Linked DNA regions of Homo sapiens: regions 1, 3 and 4 are each linked to region 2. The links are contacts of gene promoters, found by promoter capture Hi-C in blood cells and fetal thymus (Javierre and others, 2016). All regions are on one chromosome and are shown on one strand. Each heading gives the region's core, a stretch centred on a gene start or on the middle of the fragment in contact. The rest is flanking DNA. Distances are from core to core; before and after follow the strand shown. Region 1 overlaps CCDC81 (coiled-coil domain containing 81). Region 2 holds the start of SYTL2 (synaptotagmin like 2). Region 3 overlaps HIKESHI (heat shock protein nuclear import factor hikeshi). Region 4 overlaps LOC105369421 (a long non-coding RNA gene).

Region 1 (5,159 bases), core at 1,094-3,593, 570 kb after region 2:
GTCTTCCACGTAGCACACTGCTCTTTCCATTGCATTATGCTCTGGGAATATGTTTCTTTGTTCAAATCATCCTTTACTATTCTGCTATACTATTCCATATATCAGTATTTTAATTTTAGAAGATAAGTTTTATAACATCAGGAAACATATCTGTTTTTTGACATTAATGACTTTTTCAAGCATATAGTATTGTATAATTTACAGAACAGGCATGTAGGATTTTTAAATAATGATCATATGTAAGATACAGTATCCTGTTACTTGGCACGGTGTTTAAACATATGGTTTTGAGCGCATGGAATGTTAAGAATTTGAAGCCAAATGAAGGTTGAACTGAATATAGAGTATATGTCTAGGGATTAGTTCTTTATAAGAGTGATTCTTGGCATTTCAGTGTTTGATTGAAATAAGTAAGAACCCTGGCTTCCCTTAAAATATGAAAGTAGTATATCCTTCAATTTGCTTTTTAGACTTGATATTTTTCATTTTGAGATTTAATGATATCCTCTCTGACTCTTTGGGATGTCAGAAAACGTCAAATTTAGAAATTACAGTCTGTAAGCTTTCCAAATCTATTCCGATTGGATTGCAGGGGCCTAAAGCCTCCTAAGGCAAATGATATGCATAGTTTTCTTTCTCTTCAATGAGAAATAGCAAATTTTAGTTTAGAATAATTAGTTCTGCTCTTATGTAATGTTATCTGTTAGGCTTTATGGAATAAAACAGTACAGTGGGCTTGAATATATCATCCAAATGAAGAAAGACAGAATCCTCAAATTTTCAATTAAACTCAGCTGAGTCTTTTCACTGGGGTTTGGTTGCAAACTATACACTTTCTCCTGGCTCTAATGAAATCATTTCATCTTCAGTGTAGTTGTTTTCCTAAAATACGAGCTTTTAGAGGTGAAAGACTGTTAGAGTCATAAATTTAACAATTTTGACTTAATAACTTTGAAAGTTCTCCATGTACATCTGGATACTGAGATTTTGCATTTGTGAATTAATGAAATTTTTGGTCATGATGAAAGTTTTAATTCAGTATACAGTTAGGACTGGTTCTTAGTTCTTAGCAGCCTGTAGTAGAATCTATGGGCTGTGGGGGTGGGGAGGAGTGGGGAACAAGGTAGGGTGGGCAGAGTAAGGGAAATGCCTGATTATAGAAAGTGATTAATGAGGGGCAGAATCTTGGCCCTCGTGCTCACTGTAGCTTGCAGCCCTAATTTTATTAATGGGTGAGTGAGTTTCCATCACCAAACTTGTTCCCAGATAGTCATAAAAGTCATTGCTACTTCTCATCCACCAAACCTGCCCCTTTCCTGGCCTATTAATAAAAATATTTATAACTCTGATATACCAGAATTAAAAGATTGCACTCTCCGTGTTTTAGCTAGTGGTTTAAATTGTTAGAAAAAAGATAAACCAATAAACCAATAAAACAAGCAGTTTCCAAAGTGGAAAAAGGATTGGGCTTTTGTCACCAGCTGCATCTATGTCCCTAAATGGCAAGTTTGTTAATGTCACTGTTCTTGATTTTTTATTTTGAGAATTAAAACGTAACAGTCTTGATTTGCAGAGAGTTCTTAACTGGAAAGTATCTTTGATAAACACATGGTTAGGTCTGGAAGGGCGATGTTAACACAGATATAATTTTCTAGACTTTGAAATATTAGTCATACTACAGTATAGGTTCATATCATACATTAACACTTTCATTATTGGCAACTACCTATTTTTCTACCACACTTGTTTGGAACACAGCTCAGAACAAGAAGATAAACTTGGAAGGCTTTCCTCCAGTCAGTCAAAATTGATAGTGCCAAGTGTATGCATTAATTCAAAGTAAAGCTCCTTGTCCTACTCAAATGTGTGTTTTTAAAAAATTATTATTTGAGGCTGGGCATGGTGGCTCATGCCTGTAATCCCAGCACTTTGGGAGGCCGAGGCGGGTGGATCACCTGAGGTCAGGAGTTGGAGACCAGCCTGGCCAACATGGCGAAACCCTGTCTCTACTAAAAGTACAATTAGCCAGGCATGGTGGCTGGCGCCTGTAATCTCAGCTACTCGGGAGGCTGAGGCAGGAGACTCGTTTGAACCCGGGAGGCGGAGGTTGCAGTGAGCCGAGATCACGCCACTGCACTCCAGCCTGGGTGACAGAGTGATACCCTGTCTCAAAAAAAAAAAAGTTATTTTAGACATACTATTAGTATTTGTTATTTCCAGAACACAGTAGATAAGAAGCAATGAATTATGACTGGTCCAGGAGCCCACAGAGTACTAGTAGAGCAAGTGACAGCTGGTAGCTTAGCAGTGAAAAATGAGAATAAAATGCAGATTTGAGGATTTAGCAAAAATAGAAGTGTAGGAAAAGTTAATGTACACACAACAGCCTTTCACGCCTTAGTGGCCTTTTGCCTTATTCCTGTGTTGTGGAATGGTGTGAGAATGAACGTTCTTATTAATCAGATGGCACAGAATAGACACCCGATAAACGGTTGCTGGGTCATTAAGAAAAGGTTGGGTTATACTTGATTAACTCTCTTTACAGAATAAAGAAAAGGGTGTGACAGAGTTCCCTTTGCTGTAGAAATATTTTCTTTAAAAATGTATTATTATTATTATTTTAAATCACATCTTCTGAACTTAAGGGAGTAAGCCTTAGTTACCAAGAAAATTAACTTTTGGGAATGGCCTTGTTTTTTGTTAATTCTAAATTAATCAGGAATTAATGTCATTTGCTTCCACATTTCATATTTACATTTTTATTTATTAGCACTAAGATACTGTCACATGGGTGCGCATATAAATTGAATAATTTCTGGTTACTTTTGAATTTCAGAAGTCTCTATTATCTGGGGGAATGTATCAGAATTTGTGAGACGGCAGTTAACCCTGCACAAGGTAAGATTTATTAATTTATTAATTTATTAATAAATTAATTTATTAATTTTAATGTAGGCATCTAAAGGATCCTTCCTTCATAGTCTTATATAATGTTGCTGGGAGCAGGGCAGTAGACTTTAGAGCCATCCTGTTTAACTTTCAGTCCTATGTTTTTTGATGCTCATGTTCGGACTTGTGGGTAATAGATTTAACAAACATGAATTTTATTTTTAGGTAATGAATTTGTAAGTTCTGCTCTTCTAGTGTTACAGAGTGTAGTGCTGATCAGCCTGGGTGTGTGTAAGGAAACTAGATGAGTTCTGTTTGTCTGTGATCTGATAGTTCCTGGCATAGCTATAGAAGGATATAACGCTTCTTGTCTTGCCTCCTTGCAGGGAATGGATTTTAACTGAAATAGAAGACTTGCCAAAATGAGAAACTTTGCCTAGGGCTGGACTGTTCCCTCCTGTTAAGTCTTGGGTTTAGATGCCATAGAACTGGACAGAGATTTGGGGATGAGCTTGGGGGAAGCTGGGAAGTTGTGGAACTTTTATACCCCATTCAGAGGTCCTACTATGAGAGCTCTTGGGCAGAATTCATACTTCAAATTTATTTTGTTTTGTTTGAGAATTTGAATTTGTTATCAGCACTTAAACTTGGGAAAAATCATATAATGTTTTGGATTTTTTCCCTCCCTTTCATTGAAAAATCAGCAGATCTAACAGTACTAGTCTTCCATTGCTACGTGGTGACACATTTGGAGCTCAAGATGTGCTCTCCCCTTTAGACGGGGTGTGCAGTCCATAGCCATCACATTCCCTGGCTGGCTACTTTCACTCTCTTGCTTTCTTTTTTGGCTCCTGTAGGCATTTGAGTTTGTAGTTCTTGATGAATGATATCTCCAGGGAGACAGAAACCCAGTATGAGAGGCAAAAACATTTGCTTCTACTCATCAGCCAGGATCACTACATTGCAGCATATGATTTGGATGCTGGTTGTCTGCTGTGGCAGACATAAAATCTAAAAGTAGGAATGAGAAAGCAGAGATTCTCATGCCCTCTTAAATTCCTCTAATGGCAGATGATTAAAATTTAAAATGTCACACAATTTAGGACAGGAGTAATCTGGGTTAAAGATTAAAAGATGCTATGGCATTCACACCAATTTCTTAGCCTTTTGATGATACAGAGATGAGCGATCTGATGTCTGCAAATCATCATGGACCAATGTATTACATTTTATACTAAGCTTATTTGAAAACTTAGAATTATAAAATGCTATAGCTCTGAAGAGTCCTAGAGATCACTGAATTTTTAAGGCCTAAGCTTACTTCTCTTCGTGTTTTTTAGATAATAATATTAAGGATTATTTTTTCTTCACTCCTTCAATGAATTCTGTTTTGTTTTGTTTTTTCCTTTCAGGGGGTTCAGATTCCAGCATTTGGAACTTTCACTTTCATAAGACAAAAGCTTGAGGTGGGAAACAACAAATTTATCTTAATCCAGAGGCCTGTGTTTATCATGGTGGAGAAGCTAGTGCAGATTCATGGACTCAAACAAAACAAAGTATATACTCCTGGTAAATAATTCTGATATGTAGGATTTTCCCAGAAGGTTACTGTCCTGGGGATAAAAAATGAAAGGGCAAAGCGTAGCCAGTGCTGCTGTCTTACCTTCTTATTTGAGGAACTCACTTTTCACAAGGTGCTTTTGGCAGAGGGAGGGGCCAAAGTGGAAAAATAATAGAGTCTTCCTGAAGGCCATTTTAAACCCCAGTAACCTAAGAGGAAGGAGTGAAAAAACCTGATGTAACGTAAAGGAAAATTTATGTAAAAGCCACACCACAGAGCTGTAAGCCCTTTATTTCAGATCCTAAGAAATTAAAAGTGGTTACAAAGAAGAGAAAGTTAATTAGGATCTCTGGTTGGGAGAACTACAGTCAGTATCAGCTGTCAAAAAGATAACTGTCTTTCTATCATATGTATAATCCAAATCATTAAAATTTAAAAGTTAGAAGTTGAATAATTCTATAAAGACTTAATGCATACCTTATATACCTTTCGCATACCCTAAAGCCAACCTCCCTCCCTCCCTCCTTTCCTCCTTCCCTCCTTCCCTCCTTCCTTCCTTCCTTCCTTCCTTCTTCAAATATTTATTGAGAGCCAACTATGTGTCAGACCTTGTTCCAGGTGCTTGAGATATAGTGGTAAACAAAATAGGCATAATCCCTGCCACAGACTGCTTCCATCCAGCTTTAGTGTGTGGGCTTCGTAACACCTC
Region 2 (5,159 bases), core at 2,065-4,564:
TTCGGGGCTCACAAACAAGATTAACCTTCATGATGCTTTTAATTATTCATGATTTTTTCTCTACATTCTGTCAAAAACAATCTGAGATGGCTCTTAGCTCTGACAATAATTCAGTCAAAAGGGCTGTATTTGTGTGTGTGTTTTTAAAATTTGTTAATATAGATGCAAAGAAAAAGATTTGGAACGCTATATCCCAAGTTTTGCTTTAATTATTTGAGTATAGATGTATTTATATCATTATTATTATTATTATTATTTGAGATGGAGTCTTGCTCTGTCACCCAGGCTGGAGTACAGTGGCATGATCTCAGCTCACTGCAACCTCCGCCTCCCGGGTTCAAGAGATTCTCCTGCCTTAGCCTCCTGAGCAGCTGGGACTACAGGCGCATGCCACCACGCGCAGCTAAGTTTTGTATTTTTAGTAGAGATGGGGTTTCACTATATTGGCCAGGCTGGTCTCGAACTCCTGACCTTGTGATCCACCTGCCTCGGCCTCCCAAAGTGCTGGGATTCCAGGCATTAGCCACTGCACCCGGCCTGATATTATTATTAATGTTAATCTGGATCTTATATTTTTTTCTACAATGAATATGTTTAGTTTTGGTAATAAGAAAATAAAGGATATTTTTATTTTTAAAACATTCTTCATTCTGAAAAATGGGAAAAAAGTGGATGTCTCCCCAGGGACTAGAGAAGCTCTATTACTGTGAACCAGAGAGTGGAAAATTCAAACAGTAGTCTAAGCCCTCTAGAACCTTGGTCCTACTTCTCCATCTGGGTACTCGAAGCCCCTAAGAATATATAACAATCTGCCAGGACACCAGTTTTATTCAGATATTTTGAAGAAAAAACTTTATATTTTTAAATCAAAGTCCATATATTATGAAATCAAATGAAAAAAATTGCATAAGCACAGGAGCATGTGTTGGTCTTCTTTTCCATTGCAGGATCTTCTATGGAAAAGTTTGGTAAGCCCTAAGACAAACATTATAATCTTATCCCCCCAACTTTTGAGAGAGTGACAACCTCATTAATACCAAGTAAGTTTTCCTCTTAATTTAAAAAAAAAAAAAGCCACATTTTTCTTCATCTACTGTATGTTTAAAAATTCTTTGTAAAACAGGTGACAAGCAAACATATTTCCAGGGAGCTCTGGAAGCCTATACAGGCACAGTTCACCCTACCTCCCTTGCCCAAAGAGGAGAAACACCTAGACTAGCATCTGGGTTTTGAAGATGGTGGAACCTGGGCTTCCCCTAGGCTGCCTCACATTTCTACAAGGCAGCAGACCACTCTGCACAAGGTGCTAATTCATTCATTCCACAAATGTTTATTGAGCAAAACCTGAAAAAGGCCTCTTAGGGGACAGTGGAATCATTCACCAGCCAACGGTTAGGGCTAACGGGTCAGATGTGGACAATCAATCTTTCATTAGACCCCAAACCACCTCTAGGATAAAGCAAACAGGGCCCTGCCCCACCCACGCACTAGCAGCTGGGCAGGATTAGGGTAGGCCTTCTAGAACAGTACTGCTGCTGAGAGGCTAAGGCAGTCACAGATTACCTCCAGAATAACGGAAACTCCTGCACCATAAATGACATAATAGCTCTAAGATGTTTTGCATAGTGCCTGACACCTGGTGAGAACACAATGTTAGACATTTTTGCTCTCCTTATTCCAGCTTGCTCTTACTTAAGGAGCACAAAGACAGTGTAAAGAACACAGGTTTTAGAATCAGAGATTGGATTTGAATTCCAGCTATGCTACTTCCTAGCTAAGTGACTAAAGGAAGCAATCTTTCTGAGCCTGTTTCTCACCTATAAAATAGGGTATAGTACATCACCCCTCATGTGGCTTTGTGAGAATTAAGGATATATTACATACAAAGAAGTGTCTGGCCCATAGTAAGTGCCCACTAAACAGCAGTCAACATTGCCCTGCTGCCGTCCCCACACCTCTTCTCCTTCCTAGCTGCTCTTGATGGGTTCTGCAATCTGATTTCACCTGGATACCACACTAAGGGTGAGAAGGGGCAGAACTTCAGGGGTGGAGGAAAGTGAGGGAAGGGAAATGCTGGAGACCTTCCATAGAAATCCAGCCAAGTCCTCAGCTCCTTTCAATCATCCTACTCTATCTGGCTGCTCCATCCAGCAGACAGCAGGGGTCACCATCCTGGTGGGGAATGGCTGCCAACAAGGGGACGGGAAGCTGGATGGCAGTTTGCATCCACCCCACCTTCCAGGGTCTATCTGTCTGAAGCCCCACCGGGCTTCCTCTGCACATCCCTGCCGGGCTGTGTGGCTCAGGGGGCTGACAGGGTGATTCATAGCCTGTTCTTATCTAGGCTTCTATCTCAACCCTGCGCCCAAAGCCCTGGAGGCTGCTGGTCACAAACCAGCACTAAATGAAAAGAAGAACTTTTCATTAAGGCAGGAAGTGGAGCCCCTCAAGGTCAAAGGGGATTTATAAAGAGAGGAGGAAAGAAAGGGAAGACGCGGCAGGATGGGTGCAGAGAAAGAGAGACCCACTTCCTATATGCTGGTGGAGCCCTGTGTCTTAGACGCTAAAAACAGTCGCTTTTCCACTTCAAAGGATGATAAAGCCCACTCGTGTAGTTTATAGCTCGCCGTGGGACGAGGTGTGGGTATGGAAGAGAATTCCAAAACACGTCTTATTTTCAAAGGAGAAATCATCATCCCCTGGCCGGCCCTTCCCAACACCCCACCTGTAAACAGGTGCTGACGCTCCTACCTTTCTGCACCTGAGCAATCTGGGGGCAGTTACTCTGCAGCCAGGTCTCCCCAGCACCCAGCCCCAAGCCCAGGTCAGTCCCTGAAAGCCCTAGAAAACGCGATAGCTCAGCAGAACCCTCGCCTACCCGGGCATCCCAGCTTCCTGGCCGCCTGGGCAGCGGAGGTGGCTCTGGAGTAGGTGGGAAACTGAGGAAAGGAGCTTTCCCCGTGCCAAAACGCAGTTCCCATTTTAGAACTGGTTAGACTAAGGAACAACATTCTACACCACCTCCCTCACTTAACAGAGGAGGAAGCAGAGACCAAGAGAGGGAAACAAAGTTGCCCGAGGTAACACAGCGAGTGGGCCAAGTAGAGACTGGAACCCGAGTGCGCACCTCCGAGTCGCTGCCGGGCAGGGAGCGCGCCTCGCCGTCTCTCTTGTCTTCTGGCCCCCAGCCCTCGGCCTGGCGGTGCAAACCGCGCAGCCCCGGGCGCGGCGCGTTACCTTCCCCCGGGCAAGGCGTTGCGAGCCTTCACTCTCCCGACGGACGCTGGCGGCACGGCCCGGGTGTCGCCCGGCACTGTCAACGCAGAGCGGCGTGCGCGAGTCCCTCCCCGCTACCCCCGCCCCCGGCGGGCGGTGCGGTGGGGCCGGTCCCGGGTGCTCGGGCCAATGGCGCTTCGCCCGCTCCCCGCCCCGGCCCGCCCCGGCCTCCTCGCCCGGCACACAGCGCCTGCCAGCCCCTGCCCTCTCCCCTTCCCTCCCTTCGCCCTCCGCCCCCGCCTGCTGCTTCTCTCCGGTTCCTAGCCTCCTTCTCAAGTGTACCTTGCCCCGAAACAACCTGTTTTCTGTGCAAATAAAGCAGCACTGTTGTTATTGTTATTATTATTTTTATCACGGCGCGTTAGGGGGCCTTGGAGCCCGAGAGTGTGGAGCACTAGGAGCCTCTGCACTCCGAGAAGGGACAGCCACCGCGCAGGGAAAGGGGCGCGGAGGGTATGGAGCCCGGTCATGGGGTAACTTGCTTTAACCCTCGGGACGTCAATTTCCTCACATGTGAAATAGAAGAAGGGGGGAAAAAAGTTGTTGAGAGGACTAAATGAAGTGATGCTTTAAAATACAATAATACCTAGAGAAAGGTGAGGGCGTCATGCACTGCCTGAGCTACTTACTGGGGTATGCACAGAGGACTGGTAAGCTCCTGGAAGACGCTGTGTGGCAGGGAGGCAGACAATGCAATACAGTAAATACAATATTGTGGTCGGGCGCGGTGGCTCACACCTGTAATCCCAGCATTATGGGAGGCCGAGGCAGGTGGATAACCCGAGGTCAGGAGTTCGGGACCAGCCCGGCCAACATAGCAAAACTCTGTTCTAATTAGAAAAGAAAAAAGAAAAATTAGCTGGGTGTGGTGGCGAGCGCCCGTAGTCCCAACTACTTAGGAAGCTGAGGCAGGAGAATCGCTTTAACCCGAGAGGTGGAGGCTGCCGTGAGCCAAGATCGCACCACTGCACCCCATCCTGGGTGACAGAGCAAGACTCTGTCTCAAAAAAATAAATAAAATAATTTAAAAATTGTATCACGACCTATTTTTTACAAGTTACCCATGATGGGGCCAGCCCAGGCAAACCTCTGAAGGAGATGAACCTTAAAGCCTTTTTCCTTATCATTTCCTGGACTAGTGTTGTCCATTTAACTGAGGGTGGCCCAGGTCTGCCTTTGGTTCTTCCAAAGGTCTTCCTTCTCCCAAACTTACAAATACTTATCCCCAAGGGCTTCAGTTAGTGCCCAGTGCAGGCTGCTAGCCTGGCCCAAGAGTCCTGGCACTGTGCAGAGATGTGTATTCTGGCTTCCTTCAGCCTTTGAGAGCCTGGTGTGTCCCTGTGCTGGGTGAGCATGCCACATGCAAAAGAGGAATAAGCCACTGGTCTTGCCTTTGAAGAAACAAATTTGTAAATAATTTCATTTTAGGGTAAGTGTTATAATAGGTTGACAAAGTGTTGTAGAGTCACTACGCTGAAGGAGGGGGACAATAAAAAATACAAATGTGACCAAGGTAGGTCTTGAAGGAGGGCTACAAATTAGGTCAGATTGAAGGGGTGACAGAAGACTGGGCACAGAGAGGCAGGCAGAGACATGGAGATGCCTGTCATATGTCACGGCTATTGCACAGGATTTGGGACAATGAGGCAGAGATGAAGCTAAGGAGGTAGGTGGGCAGATGTTGGAGGAGTGGCTGTACCTGCCTTGCTGAGGGAAGCAGGCTGTGTCCTGTTGGTGATGGCTGTTGGCGAATGATTTTAGGCAGGGGAGTAGCGTGACCTCAGATGCTTTTGGTACTTCACTTTTATTGTTGATTGCACCTGCCTTGGTTATCCCCTTCCTGCCCCTCTCTAGCTCTGGAGGGCAGGCACTGGGTCTTGCTC
Region 3 (5,655 bases), core at 73-2,572, 520 kb after region 2:
TGGTAAAGTGGATCATATAAGCAAAATTACCTACTATGAATCTTCAAATAAGATCTCATTATCTGAGTTTTCTCAACTAAAAATTTGATGATTGAACAATGTATTTTTAAGGATCAAGAGAAAATATGAGGCCGGGTGCGGTGGCTCATGTCTGTAATCCCAGCACTTTGGGAGGCCGAGATGGGTGGATCACTTGAGGTCAAGAGTTCCAGATTGGCCTGGCCAACATGGTGAAACCCCGTCTGCACTAAAAATTTGAAAATTAGCCGGTGTGGTTGCACAGGCCTGTAATCCCAGCTACTCGGGAGGCTGAGGCATGAGAATTGCTTGAACCCAGGAGGCGGAGGTTGCAGTGAGCCAAGATCGTCCTACCGCACTCCAGCCTGGGCAACAGAGTGAGACTCTGTCTCAACAACAACAACAACAAACAAACAAAAAAAAAAAAGAAAAGAAATATGGTATTCTACTCAGTCATTTAAGAAGAAGGAATTTCTCACATAATATTTTGTCATGGACAAGTAGTAAAGGATGTGTTCTGCTATTCTTTTATCTCTTATATTTGTGTTCCAAAATAGACTGGATATGGTTTTATAAATAGACAAATGCTGAAAGCAGGGGTGTATAGAGAAGTGATTGGAAGGAAATAGGTATAGGAATGAAAAAAAAAATAATTGGCTTGATCATTCTAAATAATGGTTATAAATCTAAAAATGAAAATATTTTGCAAAATGTAGATCAGAGGATAGCCATCCTTCAACAAATTATGAGCCGTTAAAGGTTTCAAAACTTCAAGCTTTCAGGTATTATATTATGGCAATGTAGATGCCAAAAAAAGAACAAGATACAACCATAAGCTATAACTTTATTAATAGATATCTGACTTATGAAATTTATAAAATGGATGTGTTCCATAAGACGCATGTGTTCCATGTTTATCCATGATGGTTGATGGGCAGTTGTATTCACAGGACATAGCCCATTTCAGCTATATCTTAAAAACAAGGAAAATGTGGAATGACTATCTGGATTTGCTGTACTTAAATACTTAGAAAAAATCTAATAAAGTTGTTTTCCACTATTTCCTGATTCTTCTCAACATTCTTTGTAAAATATGTGTGTGTGTGTGTGTGTGTGTGTGTGTGTGTGTGTAAAGTTTCCATTAGATGCAAATAACAAATGATGGTGACTGCTTTTCCTTGTATACTGAGAATAAAGAACTAGCTCCCTGTAGGAATTTTTCCTCTGAGTTGTGTTTTGTGTTAGGCTCTTGATTTACATGGAGGAGGGATGCTTTGAGAAAGAGTCTTAAAAAAAATTAGCTGCTGCATTTACTGTTAACAGTGTTTTAAAGAACTTGATCTAATTTACATTTGTTTTTTATATTAAGACTAGGTCATATATTTTGCTTGCTCTTCTTTGTATTATGATTTATAATTTATTATTTTTGCATCTATTTGATGATATGCTTTGATAATGATATGTTTTCTGGATTTTAGCATAATTCTAGATTTAAAAGAAATCAAACGGTAGAGTAAGGAGCTCCAGAAAATCCAGTCTTCCATAAAAGCAACAACAACACTGTCAGAAGATCACAGCTCACTGTAGTCTCGATCTCCTAGGCCTAAGCGATCCTCCCACCTCCACCTCCCAAGTAGCTAGGACCACAAGCATGCACCACCTCGCCTGGCTAACTTTTGTAGAGATGGGGTCTCCCCATGTTGCCCAGGCTGGTCTCAAACTTCTGGGCTCAAGCAGTCCTCCTGCCTCAGCCTCTGAAAGTGTTGGGATTACAGGATATGAGCAACTGTGTCTGACCCAGAATCAACTTTTTTGGAACTCTGGTAACTAACCAAAAGCTTGTAGCAATCAGGGGAACATTTAATCAAGAAAATACACTGAATCTCAGTAAGAACAGTGAGCTTTGTGGCATTTGGCTACCCTTGTCCCATCTGCTTCTCAGCTCAGTGATAGCCTTGAAAATAACAGACTCCATTCCTGGTACTGATATAGGGAGCAGGATAGACCTAATTCAGAAAGAATTGTAATTAACTTGTTTTCATCTGTCTGGTGGCTTGCTAGAAGACTGTTTAAAAAAAAAGAGGTCTGCCTTTATGTCACCTAACTTGGAACTCTTCATGGAAAAGTATCTACCTTGGGGGTGTTTGTTAAAAGTATTTACAGACATATGTTTTAGCTACTGTTGCCCGAGGCAAAGGAAAACAGTTGGAGTAAACCAAAACTAACCAGAAAGGTTGGGAATGAGATGCTTTGGGGAATGAGGGCTTTGAAATTCTCTGACATATTCTTGGTAATCTAGAAGGGTACGTGCATTCCCAGAGCTTTGTGCATGCTCAGGAAAGACCCGCGAAGACCCAGAGCTCTCTCTTCTGGCTCACTTTAAGTCTCCGCACAAGCAGGAAGTGAAGACTAAGGTGGAGTTATAAACTGCCTGGCTGAATACTAAAGGCATGTCCCAACACGCAGAGCCCATCTGCAAAGACTGGCAGAATTTTTTGGTTGCAGAGGTTTAAGGAAATTTCTTTCTAATCACTAGCAGACTACTAACTAATGGAACAGAGACTTCACTGGCCACACATAACAAAGAAACAGACTTTACAAAATTAGTTCAGATAAGTCATTAAATGAGGAAACAACTACAATAAACAGCAACAACAAACCCCTAGAAGGTGGAAACATCTGATTTATAGCGTCGTCACATTGTAATATTCAAAATGTCCAGTTTTCTACAAAAAATTATGAAACATACAAAGAAACAAAGTAAGGCTCTTATACAGAGGAAACGAACAGAAACTTCCCCCAGGGAAGCACAGGCAAAGACTTTAAGTAAGCTGTCTTTATTATGCTCAAATTGCTAAAGGAAACCAGAAGAATGATACATCATCAAATAGAGAATATCAATATAGAAATTATAGAAAGGAACTAAACAGAGTTTATAGCTGAAAAGTACAGTAACTGAATGGTTCACTAAAGGGCTTAGATAGCAGAATTGAGTAGACAGAAGAAAGAATCAGTGAAGTCGAAGATAAATTAATTGGAATATCCAGTTTGAAGAGCAGACCCTTAGAGACCTGTGAGACACCCTCAAGTGCACCAACATGCACAGCAGACACAGTGTAATGAGAGTAACATATGGAAAGGCGGGAGGGCTGGAAAGAATATTTGCTCTGGTCTGAATGTTTGTGTCTTTTTATATGATGAGGTCTTTTAAATTTATATGCTGAAATCCTAACCCCCAAGGTATTGGGAGGTAGGGACTTGGATGGTGACTGGGTCATGGGAGTAGAGCCCTCATGAATGGGATTACCACTCTTAGAGTAATAAGAAGATCACTTGCCCTACTACCACGTGAGAACACAGTGAGAAGGCACTGTCTGAACCAGAAAATGGTCCTTCACCAGATACCAAATCTGCCGGTTCCTTGATCTTGGACTTCCCAACCTCCAGAACTGTGAGAAATAAATTTCCGATGTTTATAAGCTACCCAGTTTATGGTGTTTTGTTATAGCAGCCTGAACAGACTAAAACAATATTTAAATAAATAATGCTCAGAAACTTCTCAAATTTGAGGAAAAACATTAACCACATTTAAGAAGCTCAAGAAACTCCAAGTAGGATAAACTACACCAAGACACACGATAATCAAACTGTCAAAAGGTAAAGAGAGAATGTTGAAAGCATCAAGAGAAGTAACTCATCACATGCAAGGATCCTTGCTAAGATTAATAGCTGATTTCTCATCAGAGACCCCATAGTCTTCTAGACGGTAGTGGATTGGCATATTCAGAGTTCTGAAAGGAAAAAAAAAAAAGCCATCAACCAGGAATTATATACTCAGCAAAACTGTCTTTAGAGATGAAGGAGAAATACTTTCCTAGATAAACAAAAACTAAGTCATTGCTGGCAGACCTGCTCCATAAGGAATGCTAAAGGGAGTCTTCTCTATTAATTATTTATTTTTCCCACACTCTGTTACTGTCTGTGTCTAGTTGCAGTAGTTTCAATACATTTCAGAAATGTGACAGCTATTTTTCTGGTGGGAAACTTTTAGTTCTTTTATTCTTTGTTAATATGCTAAAAACGAAGTAGGCTTTTGCATTTATCTGAAAAGAGGGACAAACTTGGACATAAAACTTTTTCATGTATATAAATTAGAGGTTCTTTATAAATTTACAAAGGAAATTGTGTGACTACAAGTTTAATTTGAAATGTGTGTCATATGTTAATTTCTTGCAGGAGAAGGAAGCCAACATCCTTTTGGAGCCATGAATATTGTCCGAACTCCATCTGTTGCTCAGATTGGAATTTCAGTGGAATTATTAGACAGTATGGCTCAGCAGACTCCTGTAGGTAATGCTGCTGTATCCTCAGTTGACTCATTCACTCAGGTAATGCAACATACATTTCATTCTTTACCTCCCCCTCCACTGCTTTATTAAGGTATAATATACAAGTTAAAATCGTAACTTAGGGTATACAATGTGATGTTTTTGATACATGTTTACATTTTGTTTTGTTTTATTTTGTTTTTGAGAGATGGAGTCTTGCTCTGTTGCCCAGGCTGGAGTGCAGTGGCGCAATCTCGGCTGACTGCAATTTCCGCCTCCCGGGTTCAAGCGATTCTCCTGCCTCAGTCTCCTGAGTAGCTGGGACTACAGGCACATGTCACCACACCCGGCTAAGTTTTGTATTTTTTTTTTAGTAGAGACAGGGTATTGCCATGTTGGCCAGGCTGGTCTCGAACTCCAGACCTCAGGTGATCTTCCTGCCTCGGCCTCCCAAAGTGCTGGGATTACAGGTGTGAGCCACCACACCCAGCCTATATTTTGACATAAAATCAAGCTACTTAACATATCAGTCACCTCACACAGTCATCATTTTTTTGTAGAGAACAGTTAAGATCTGATCTCTTAGCAAATTACAAGTATACATTATTAGTAACTGTATTCTCCATGCTGTACAATAGATTTTCAGAATTTATTCATTCCATTGAACTGAAACTTTGTGCCCTTTGACCAACATGTCCTCATTTTCCCTTCCCCTCCACTCTTCAACCCCTGGCAACCATCATTCTACTGTCTGCTTCTGTAAGTTCAACTTTTAGATTCCACATATAAGTGAGATCAATCATGCTATTTGTCTTTCTGTTCCTGACTTCTTAGCCTATTATCAAGAGGAAAAATTGATGATGTAGGAGAGCAAGGAGAACTGCTAAAGCAGTGTCCTTGAGTAGAAAATAGCAGCATATATGGAGGTGTTCACTTTAGACAGGATAATGGATATATGGGTACAGATTCAGGAGGCTGGTAGATGTGGTGATGAGAACTTGTGCAGGCTGTCTCCTGATTTCTTCTTGCTTAGTGAAATAGAAAGGACGATCATCAGCTAAGATCGAGGTAGTAGAAATTGAAATAAAAAAAGACTACTAAATAAGTCTTCTAGCAGAGGAGGAGTGAATGGATTAGGGAAACCATATGTGTTTGCCTGGCAGTACCAGAGGCGCACTTTTGAAGGTTGTGGTCATGAATGTAAAGGTAGATTTGTCACATCTTTGAAAATGGACTGAATTGAGAATGACAGACTCTGGGTCTCAAAAATGTTTTTTTTCCCATAATTTTACAAATAAGCTGCTGTGCT
Region 4 (5,289 bases), core at 1,351-3,850, 540 kb after region 2:
ACAACATATTATGGACAATATTCAGTGATAATTCTCTTGGTCTGTAATCTCGTAAAGTATATCTTTTTGCAGACAGTTATTGTGTTAGTCTTTACATGAACATGAGCATGTTTCTTTTTACCTGAAATGAAACACTGAAACATTTTTATTCACAAATTTTACCTGGCATAATTAACAGGAGAAGGCTAATCTCTTGATTTGTTAAGTTTTCTTTTTTTCTTTTAAGTTTGATTTTTTTTAAAAAAAAAGTCTTAAAATGATTGGGGATTAATTAAAATTTGTAGAGTGCCAAACAAACCTAATTTTTCCTATTGTCTTTTCTTCCATAATGTGAAGGAAACCTGAAGAGTTCAGGCATAAAAGACATCTTCATAGTCTTACTGTGCCTGAATTTGGGAAAGGCCAAAATTATAAAGAGTTGTCAGAGGAGAGAAGATATGAATATTAGTCAAAAATATATAAAGGTGGCTGGGCATGGTGGCTCACGCCTGTAATCCCAGGACGTTGGGAGGCCGAGGTGGGTGGATCACTTGAGGCTAGGAGTTCAAGACCAGCCTGGCCAATATGGTGAAAGCCCATCTTTACTAAAAACACAAACATTAGCCGGGCATGGTTGTGCATGCTTGTAATCCCAGCTACTCCAGAAGCTGAGGCAGGAGAATCACTTGAACCCAGGAGGTGGAGGCTGCAGTGAGCCGAGATGGTGCTACTGCACTCCAGTCTGGGTAACAGAATGAGACTCAGTCTCAAAAAAAAAAATTTTTTTTAAATTAAAGAATTTAATTTTTAAAAGATTTATTGAGATATAATTCATATTCCACACAGTTAACCCATTTACAGTTAACCCATTTAAAGAGCCAGGTGCAGTGGTGCACAGCTGTAATCTCAGCTACTCTGGAGCCTGAAGTGAGAGAATTGTTTGAGCCCAGGAATTCAAGACCAGCCTGGGCAACAGCAGAGACCTTGTCTCAATTGAATGAATGAATGCTTTTTAGTTTAGTCTCAGATTTGTGCAAATGTCATCACAATCTAATTTTTATTCCTCCAAAAGGAGCCTCATATCCATTAGTAGTTAATCCCCATCTCCCAGCTTCTAGTATCCCTAAGCCACCACTAATCTTTTTGTGTCTGGATTTGCCTTTTCTGGATATTTTATATAAATGGAATCAGAGAGAGTGGTCTTTTGTGACTAGCTTCCTTCACTTAGCATAATGTTTTCAAGATTATTCCATGTTGTAGCATGTATCTGTACTTCATTTCTTTTTATCTTTTTTCTTTTCAATTTTTTGAGACAGGATCTCCCTCTGTTGCCTAGACTGGAGTGCAGTGGTGCGATCACGGTTCACTACAGCCTCGACCTCCCAGCCTCAAGTGATACTCTCACTTCAGCTTCCCGAGTAGCTGGGACTAGAAGTGCGCACCACCATGCCCAGCTAATTTTTTTTTTTTTGGTATTTTTTGTAGAGATCTAGTCTCACTCTGTTGTCCAGGCTGGTCTTGAACTCCTGTGCTCAAGGGATCCACACACCTCAGCCCCCTGAAGTGCTGGGATTATAGGCATGAGCCACTGTGCCTGGCTAGGAGTTTATTATAGATACAAGTCTCTTAAAAATAGGATTTGCAAATATTTTCTTCTGTGAGTTATCTTTTCACTTTCTTGTTGATATCATTTGCAGTACAAAAGTTTTTAATTTTGATGTAATTCAGTTTATCTTTGTTTTTCTTTTCTTGTTTCTGTTCTTGGTGTTATATCTAAGAAACGATTGCCTAATTCAAGGTTGTGAAGACTGACTCCTGTGTTTTCTTCTAAGAGTTTTATAGTTTTATCTCTTTCATTTAGGTCTTTGATTCATCTTGAGTTAATTTTTGTGAATGGTAAATGAATATGCACATTCTTTTGCGTGTGAATATCCAGTTTTCCCAACATCATTTGTTGAACCGTTAGTCTACATTTGAACCATATCAAGTTAATTTTGGTGCACAAACATAAAAGATAAAAGAATATGTGACTAGGATTATTAGGTATTTTAGTTTTTCCAAATTAGTATTTTAGCTTTTTTAAAAAATGACTTAATATGTCAAAATGCTTAGTGATAGAATGTTACAGTGATAGAAGAAATCTTTGTTATCTCACCAGAGATAGCTTTGCTGTTTTATCAGAAAGAAAATCCAGATTATAGTTTTACTCTTGTTACTTGTCTTCTATTTAACAATATGTAGTAATGGCTTCATAAGCCTTTCTTCCTGTGAATACATCCATCACATTTAACCAGCTTCGTCAAAAATTTTGACACATTTATTGATCCTTTCCAACCCCTAACTTGTCAAATACAGTTTACTCCTCAGAACTTCTACACTCTCTGAATACTTTTTTTCTGAGATGAAATCTCACTCTGTCTCCCAGGCTGGAGTGCAGTGGTGTGATCTCAGCCCTCCTGAGTTCAAGTGATTCTCCGGCCTCAGCCTCCTGAGTAGCTAGGATTACAGGTGTCTGCCACCATGCCTGGCTAATTTTTGTATTTTTGGTAGAGATGGGGTTTCACCATGTTGGCCAGGCTGGTCTCGAACTCCTGACCTCAAGCGATCCACCCACCTCGGCCTCCCAAAGTGCTAGGGTTACAGATGTGAGCCACCGCGCCCGGCCTGAATACTCTTAAGTTTAAAAAATACTCTTCAAATGGTATTTCTAGTTCTAGATCCCTGAGGAATCGCCACACTGACTTCCACAATGGTTGAACTAGTTTACAGTCCCACCAACAGTGTAAAAGTGTTCCTATTTCTCCACATCCTCTCCAGCACCTGTTGTTTCCTGACTTTTAAATGATCTCCATTCTAACTGGTGTGAGATGGTATCTCATTGTGGTTTTGATTTGCATTTCTCTGATGGCCAGTGATGATGAGCATTTTTTCATGTGTTTTTTGGCTGCGTAAATGTCTTCTTTTGAGAAGTGTCTGTTCATATCCTTCACCCACTTTTTGATGGGGTTGTTTGTTTTTTTCTTGTAAATTTGTTTGAGTTCATTGTAAGGATTATAAATCATGCTGCTATAAAGACACATGCACACGTATGTTTATTGCAGCACTATTCACAATAGCAAAGACTTGGAACCAACCCATATGTCCAACAATGATAGACTGGATTAAGAAAATGTGGCACATATACACCATGGAATACTATGCAGCCATAAAAAATGATGAGTTCATGTCCTTTGTAGGGACGTGGATGAAGCTGGAAACCAGCATTCTCAGCAAACTATCACAAGGACAAAAAACCAAACACCGCATATTCTCACTCATAGGTGGGAATTGAAAAATGAGAACACATGGACACAGGAAGGGGAACATCACACACTGGGGCCTGTTGTGGGGTTGGGGGAGTGGGGAGGGATAGCATTAGGATATATACCTAATGCTAAATGATGAGTTACTAGGTGCAGCACACCAACATGGCACAGGTATACATATGTAACAAACCTGCACGTTGTGCACATGTACCCTAAAACTTAAAGTATAATAATAAAAAAATACTCTTCTAGGCTAGCATAACCAGACTCTCCTTAAGGTAAAATAATTCTTTTTTACTTAGATAAATAAAATTCATTACCTTGCATACACATCCCATTACCTATCCACATTTAAAAAATATCTTCAAAACAAGTATTCACATCAACATAAAGCCATCTATACATCCTTTTTAACCTGGTAGCTAACAGCTACACCAGTTATTAAAGCACATATGTCATAAAATTGTCCAGTTTTCCAAGGTTACTTACAAAAGAATATTCATATCCTTAAAGTTAACTAAGGATCTGGAAATCACAAATGAAGCTGACACAGGAAGTCCTTATGGTTGTAGCTTAAGAATTAACAAATTTAGAATCTTTTAAAAGACATTTGTTATAAGTCCATTTTGTTAAACACAACTTGAGCTTTTTGTAATAAATAATTTGTGGAAAAGAGATAACACTTAAAACCTATATAAAAATTTAAGTTTAAATATGGAATAAAAGTCATTTATATACATTTTCTGACTTAAACATTCATTAAAACAGTTTCATGACCTGCTATTTCTCCTTTTCCATTTAGAGCCTGTGGTGGACAGATATGTATGAGATAATATGAGACATCACTAAATTCAGCTTTTTTTGTGTGTGTTTAATGGATAAAAGAACTAACATTTCTAAGCAAGAACAGAAGTTTTCTTAGATCTCAATAGCATTAGCCAATTGGCTTTATTTTTCCAAAGAAACAAAATAAGAAAAAATTATGTGAGCATCTGTTTTTTCTTCAGTGATGCACAGAGAACCACAAAATTGCATTATAGTGTAGTGGATAAGGTTATGGCCTCTAGAGTCAGGTAGCTTGTGTTCAAAATTTGGCTATACCATTTACTTACTGTTTTGATCTTATCAAGTTACTTCGCCTCTCTGTGTCATAGTTTCTTCATCTGTAAAATGAATTGACCACAGTATATATCTTTGAAGTTTGTTATAAGGAATAAACTTACCTAAAACTTTTAGAATAATGCCTGATACATTCTTAGTGCTCAATAAGTATTGGAAATCAAATTGTTGAAGTATATCATATTTGATATCAGCCAGGGTCACTCACTGGCCAAGTAACCCACCACATACCAGCATCAAAGATCAATTAAAATTGTCATATTCCTTTGGGGCTGCTTTTGAATGATAAAATGTCTGATAACTATTTGTACACTAGGTATGTATTATATTTCTAAAAGCCTAAAGAGAACTGCATAAACAATAGGGTTGCATAGTATAACAAAGCATTTGTTTCTTGTTTGGAATTTTATTTTATTTTTTGAGATGGAGTCTCACTCTGTTGCCCAGGCTGGAGTGCAGTGGCGCGATCTTGGCTCACTGCGACCTCCACCTCCTGGGTTCAAGCAATTCTCATGCCTCAGCCTCCTGAGTAGCTGAGATTATAGGCATGAGTCACCACGCCCAGCTAATTTTTGTATTTTTAGTAGAAACGGGGTTTCACCATGTTGGCCAGGCTGGTCTCGAACTCCTGATCCCCCTGCCTCGGCCTCATCTTCTTTGGAATTTTATTTTCTTGTGGCTTGGGTACTTGGAGTTTGGGAAAAAATGAAAAAGACAGTGGAGACGAAAATCCTTCAAAAGCTGAGGGTCACTAGGGAGAAATTGAAAAGGAAGAATAGACAATCTGAATAGGACTATATCTACTAAAGAAATGGCATCAATAGCTAATCTTCCCAAACAGAAAGCATTAGGCCAAGATAGGTTTGCTGCTGAATTCCACCAAACA

What was found. The method cuts DNA at HindIII sites, captures the fragments that hold promoters and counts their contacts. A CHiCAGO score of 5 or more calls a contact.
Region 1: a contact is called between a fragment that was not itself captured here and the fragment with the promoter of SYTL2 in region 2, in 1 of 17 cell types (neutrophils). The highest score is 5.5, in neutrophils.
Region 3: a contact is called between a fragment that was not itself captured here and the fragment with the promoter of SYTL2 in region 2, in 1 of 17 cell types (monocytes). The highest score is 6.3, in monocytes.
Region 4: a contact is called between a fragment that was not itself captured here and the fragment with the promoter of SYTL2 in region 2, in 1 of 17 cell types (neutrophils). The highest score is 5.2, in neutrophils.

Annotation. Positions count from the first base shown.
Region 1 is chr11:86,383,215-86,388,373 of GRCh38, forward strand. CCDC81 (coiled-coil domain containing 81) reads left to right here. Exons shown (of 15, transcript NM_001156474.2): 2 at 2,837-2,898; 3 at 4,302-4,458. LOC105369421 (a long non-coding RNA gene) reads right to left here. Exons shown (of 5, transcript XR_007062826.1): 2 at 4,553-4,659. Among named protein-coding and RNA genes, the nearest start is that of CCDC81, 11 kb to the left of the region's middle. The HindIII fragment of the contact is 3,566 bases long and covers 561-4,126 here.
Region 2 is chr11:85,807,827-85,812,985 of GRCh38, forward strand. SYTL2 (synaptotagmin like 2) reads right to left here and starts at 3,315. Exons shown (of 20, transcript NM_206927.4): 1 at 3,128-3,315. RefSeq lists a silencer at 3,274-3,453. The HindIII fragment of the contact is 7,624 bases long and covers 1-5,159 here.
Region 3 is chr11:86,333,125-86,338,779 of GRCh38, forward strand. It overlaps HIKESHI (heat shock protein nuclear import factor hikeshi), which reads left to right. Exons shown (of 5, transcript NM_016401.4): 3 at 4,255-4,406. It overlaps LOC105369421 (a long non-coding RNA gene), which reads right to left. Exons shown (of 5, transcript XR_007062826.1): 5 at 2,840-3,809. Among named protein-coding and RNA genes, the nearest start is that of HIKESHI, 34 kb to the left of the region's middle. The HindIII fragment of the contact is 1,063 bases long and covers 792-1,854 here.
Region 4 is chr11:86,348,587-86,353,875 of GRCh38, forward strand. LOC105369421 (a long non-coding RNA gene) reads right to left here. Exons shown (of 5, transcript XR_007062826.1): 4 at 4,397-4,447. Among named protein-coding and RNA genes, the nearest start is that of CCDC81, 24 kb to the right of the region's middle. The HindIII fragment of the contact is 9,507 bases long and covers 1-5,289 here.